2 separate regions of the Homo sapiens genome follow, and region 1 is linked to region 2. The links are contacts of gene promoters, found by promoter capture Hi-C in human tissues and cell types (Jung and others, 2019). All regions are on one chromosome and are shown on one strand. The core of a region is centred on a gene start or on the middle of the fragment in contact, and the rest is flanking DNA. Distances in the headings are between cores, read along the strand shown. Region 1 has its middle 3.7 kb from the start of SLC18B1. Region 2 holds the start of MOXD1 (monooxygenase DBH like 1).

What was found. The method cuts DNA at HindIII sites, captures the fragments that hold promoters and counts their contacts. A contact is called where the count stands out against the background at its distance.
Region 1: a contact is called between a fragment that was not itself captured here and the fragment with the promoter of MOXD1 in region 2, in 1 of the 25 tissues and cell types used here (H1 embryonic stem cells).

The regions. Positions count from the first base shown.
Region 1 is chr6:132,800,990-132,803,689 of GRCh38, forward strand. No RefSeq gene overlaps it. Among named protein-coding and RNA genes, the nearest start is that of SLC18B1, 3.7 kb to the left of the region's middle. The HindIII fragment of the contact is 3,907 bases long and covers 1-2,700 here.
Region 2 is chr6:132,400,203-132,402,902 of GRCh38, forward strand. MOXD1 (monooxygenase DBH like 1) reads right to left here and starts at 1,273. Exons shown (of 12, transcript NM_015529.4): 1 at 961-1,273. The coding sequence starts at 1,224. RefSeq lists silencers at 977-1,026, 1,157-1,326, 1,347-1,486. The HindIII fragment of the contact is 14,314 bases long and covers 1-2,700 here.

The DNA.
Region 1 (2,700 bases), core at 15-2,514, 400 kb after region 2:
GTCACCCAAACTGGTCCTTTTACTTATTTCTCTTTTTCTTCTCTCTTTTATTTTATTTTATTTTTTTTAGACAGGGTCTCACTCTGTTTCCCAAGCTACCATGACATATAATGGCTCACTGCAACCTCAAATTCCTGAGCTCAACTGATCCTCCCACCTCAGCCTCCCGAGTAGGTGGGACTATAGGCCTGTGCCACCACACCTGGCTAGTTATTATTTTTTCTTTTTTTTTCCTCCATGTTATAGGAAGTATCCCTAACTGTATCTTGCCATCTGAATTTTTGCCAACTGAATCTTGCCAACTGTATCTTGCCAATTGAATGTTTCATTTCTGTTGCCATCTATTTCCTTGTATCTCCATTCTCATTCCTCTCCCCATTTGCAATAATTCTTGCATGTTTAATGCAAATCTTGTTCTTTATGTTCTCAAAAAAATCTATGTTCTTATGTGTCCATCTACTTTTAATTTACATAAAGTCTATTCATATCCCTATCCTCCGCTCCTCTTGTAATCTCTACCTCTCATTCTCCCTTCAGATAATCAGTTTTATAATCAAATATATTATTGTGTTAGTTTTCTGGGGCTGCTGTACAAATCAACACAAATTTGATAGCTTAAAACAAGGTCCTCAAAGCCAGAAGTTCAACATCAGTTTCACTGAGCCAAAATCAAGGTGTCAGCAGGATCATGTTCCCTCTAGAAGCTCTAGGGAAGAGTCTGTTTCTTGCCCCTTGAAGCTTCTAGTGACTATTGGCATTTTGTGCCACATCACTGTAGTCTCTGTTTCTGTGATCACTGTGCCTCTTCTTTTCTGTGTGTAATCTTCGTTTGCCAGTCTCTTGTAAGGATATTTTGAATGAATTTAGGGCCCACCTGGATAATCCAGGATGACCTCTTCATCTCAAGTTCTCCAATTTAGTCACATCTGCACAGACCCTTTTTTTCATATAAGGTAACATTTACAGGTTCCAGGGATTAGGATGTGGACGTATCTTTGGAATCCATTATCAGCCTACCACAATTATCTATTCATAGTTTGATATGCTCATTTAGACATTCATACACATATGGAATATTTGTTTCTTTACAAACTAAAATGGAGTAATATGGTCTTTGTTTAAATGCCACCTCCTCAGAGAAATTCATTCTTTTTTATTATTTATTTATTTAATAATAGAGATGAGGTTTCACCATGTTGCCCAGGCTGGTGTCAATCTCCTGGACTCAAGCAATCCATCTGCCCTGGTTCCCCAAAGTGCTGGGATTACTGCCGTAAGCCACCATACCTGGCCAAGAAATTCATTCATTTTTTTTTTTTTTTTTTTTTTTGAGATGGAGTTTCACTCTTGTTGCCCAGGCTGGAGCACAATAGTGCTATCTTGGCTCACCACAACCTCCACCTCCTAGGTTCAAGCGATTCTCTTGCCTCAGCTTCCTGAGTAGCTGGGACTACAGGCATGCGCCACCATGCCCAGTTAATTTTGTATTTTTAGTAGAGACAGGGTTTCTCCATGTTGGTCAGCCTGGTCTCAAACTCTCAACCTCAGGTGATCCTCCCGCCTCGGCCTCCCAAAGTGCTGGGATTACAGGCGTGATCCACCGCGCCCGGCTAAGAAGTTCATTCTTATGCCCTTATCCAAATACAGCCCTAGTCCTCCTTTGTCCTTTCACCTTTCTATTTTTCTTCCTGGCATTTCTATCAGTCAGAGTTCCCTGTTGCTAATAAAAAACAAAGCAACGTTGGCTAATTTAAGCAGAAAATGAATTCATCATTGATTATTAGGTAACACATAGTATCATCAGGAGGATCATGCATACCACTTAGAGGCTAAGTGCCTAAAGTCACACCACCTAAGCGGTCCAGTATGCATGGCACTGCAACCCTGCTGGACGTACATCTCCAGCACATGCTGCCAATACCACTGGAGCCAGGTATGAGACACTGTAATTAGAACATCATCCCCACTCCTCAAGAATGCTGCCACTCTCACCAGAAGAGATTTTAGGTGGTGCTAGCTTCTTCCACTCACTTGCTTCCATTGCATATCAAGACCCAATGTGTTTGAAGTCAGGCAGTAAAAAGTGTCCAAGTACGTTCTTCTTTTTCAAGAGTGGTTTGAATATTTTAGTTACTTTGACTTTCTAGAGAAATATCACAATTAGCTCTCATATTCTCCAAACAACCTGGTGGAATTCTTACTGGTATTTTTTTTACTCCATATATCAATTTGGAGAGAACTGATATTGAATCACTATTAAGCTTTTAATCCATGAACATAGTATATCTCTCCAATTATATAGATATTTCTTTCATAACATTTTCACATTTTTCACCGTGTAGGTATTATATGCCTCATGTTAAATTTATTCCTAAATACCTTAGTTTTAGAAGCTACTAAAATTGATATTTTTATGTTTAAATTTCCAACAATTTGCTGATTATATATAAAGGTAAATGAACTTTTATATTAATCTGGTATCCTGCAATCTTGCTAAATTTCCTCATTAGTTCTAGTCATTGTTGTATAGATTCCTTTAGATTTTCTACATAAACAATTATGCCATCTGCGAATAGAGTTTTACTTCTTCCTTTCTGAAATGTATGCTTTTGTTTCTTTCACTTATTTTATTGCACTGACTAGGACGCCCAGTAAAATGGTGAATAAATGTGGTGAGAATGGAGAGCCTCACTTTGTTCC
Region 2 (2,700 bases), core at 23-2,522:
AATACTATCAAAGCCTTAATGCAATGCCAGAACAATTCGGAGTTTTCATCTGGATCAAGACTTTTAGCAAAGGGCAGTATGTTCGGATGAATTTTTATAATAACAAAGCGTGTACGTTCACCGCCATCCAAACGTTGGTCACGATCAAGCAAGGATGTCCAGGAAACCTAGCCACCTAATCATTCTGGTCATCTCACAATCTTCTTCTTCCTTTTTTTTTTTCTTTCTATTTAGTAAAGCACCCATGAACAGGCAAGGTGGTTACTTAGGCTCCTTCAAAGTAAATCAGCAGCGGTCAAATTAACTTTATTGGTTATTAAAGTAAGCCAAAGTTTTGTCACTTCATAGGATATTTTGCCTGGGGACCTTCGATTTTGGTCTCTAAATGTGGCTTCCTGAACAGCTCTCGGAATAGGAAAGTCCCTAAGCGATTCTTAGGGGCCCTTCATTCTTCTGGAGAATGGTGTAGCTGACATCAGCCCCGCGCCTGGAGGCTCCCAAATAGCCACGATTTGGGAAGTTCTGAGATTTCCACTCCTAGACAGCAAGTCCGCGACGTACTAAAGCGCTCTGTCCCTTCCCTCCTCTGAGAGCTGTCCCATTAGGTCCCCAAAGCCAAAGCCTAGGTCCTTCTCCCTTCCCATCAGGGATGAAGCGGGGTGTATTGCAGGTGTGTAGGCGGGGGGGCGTCTATTAAGTGGGGCGCTGGGGACAGGAAAGTGTTCAAAGAAGGAAACCTGCCTGGGGTCATCCGTGCTCGGCTTCCCTACCGCGCGCCTTCTGGGGCTCCGGGAGAGCAGGCGCTGCCCGCGGAGGCGAGAGTGAGCGTGGCCGGGGGCGCGGGGCTGCGCCAGGTGAGAGAGAGCTGCGGGCCCCGGGGACGACCCGCACCTGCGCCCTCTCTGGGGTCCGGACGGGACCGGGCTCGGCCGGGCGGGCTCCGGGAGGAGACGCGCTTACCTGGAGGTAGGGCCGCCCGTGGGCCACCCCGCCCACGACGATGTCGGCGGACGCCATGGCCCCGGTGGGCGAGAAGCCGAAGCCCACGTAGCCTGCAGTGCGCACCTGGAGGCGGAAGGCGATCTGGCTGCCCCGCTGGCTCCAGCCCAGCCAGTACTTGCCCTCCGAGTCCAGGAGGGTCCGGTGCGGATAGGTTCGGCCCGAGCCCCCCGCCGCCGTCCCGGGGAGCAGCCCCCACAGCAGGAGCAGCGGCCAGCAGCACATCCTCGGGCGCCTCCTGCCCGCCGGTACCGGCCTCCAGCCGCTGGGGAGTGAGGAGCAGAACGAGGAGCGGCAGCGGCGGCGAGCGGGAGCCCAGGGACCGCCCCTCGGGCCGGCCGCGCGCCCGCCCGGGAGGGGCAGGACCCGCTCTCCCCGCCCCGGGCCGCCTGCAGGGCGCGCCGCGTCCCGTCCGGTCCCGTCCCGTTCCGTCCCGTCGGGTCCCAGCCCCGCCAACTCTCACCCTGCCCGGCCCTTCCAGCGGATCCACTTGCAGCCCCCGACCCCTGACTTGGTCCCCGAGGTCGGGGCTCGGTGGGAAGGAAAGCGAGGGGCTTCCCGGAAAGAAAGGGAGGAGGAGGCAGGAGGAGGCAGACGCCGAGAGAGGAGAAAAGGAGGCCAGAGGCAGAGGGAAAAGGAGGAGGGCAAGAGAATCCTAGAGCGGGAAGAGCGTGGGCTCTGCGGGACGTGGGCGAGAGGTTACCAGGGAAAGAATGGACATTGACGGCAGAGAGCAAGTTTAGCCTGGAGAGGAGGAATTGAGTGAGCAAAGGGGGTAGTCTGGGGTGCGATGCACAGAAAGGCCCGTCCAGGGTAACCTTCACGTCTCCGTATCCGTTGCTGTCGACTTTCCAGAGCCTTTGTTCCCAGTGACGTCCCTATTGCAATGGAGGGACACACTTCACTTTCCCCAGCCCCCCACCTCGAGAATTTCTCTCACCCTCCCACCCTGCGGGGCCGCAGAGCTTGCTCCTCACGGCAGGAGTTGGAGCCCTGACGCTTGCCTTCACCTAGTTTTTGTTTGGTTTGGTTTGGCGTTGATGGGACAAAGTCAGCCAAACTACTTTGCCATCAGCAGAGAAGGTAAGGGGTGAATTGTCATTTGAGAGTTATATTTTAATTTAACATTCTCTTTTCTTGCTATTCCAAGTTCTGGCCATAACCATGTTTGTCAAAAGTTTGTTTTGTTTTGGTTTTGCCTCTACCTTTGACCACTCCTGTCTTTAGAATGCTAAATACAAATATGGCCACTAAAATTTACCTTGCTTATTTATTCCTTTATTTATGATCTGCCAAGTTTCCAAAAAAGTTCGAAATTTTGTCTTTATAAAAATACAAACAATGCAAAATAGAAAAACAAATAAGAGAGAATATCAGATGAGAAATATGGGTAAGAAGAGCAAGCTCCACACTAGCCACCCTACACTCCTCATTCTCTCTCCTCACCTCGTATTTCAGCCTGTTTTTCCCCCTGCCTATCTTTTCCCATAACTTTTCCAAAGTTACCGTCATGCATCTAATTTATATTCTTCTAAGGATACGGGAATATTTGATCATGTCTGGAAGGTGACCTGTAGGTGGATCTGCTTACCAAAGTGCTCAGGGACTTGCCTGGGAAGGGACTTTTCCCAAGGAGAGATTGGATCAAGGTCCGCAGGGCTGGCCAATGGCAATAGGCCAGCATCAGAGAAGAGTGATGTT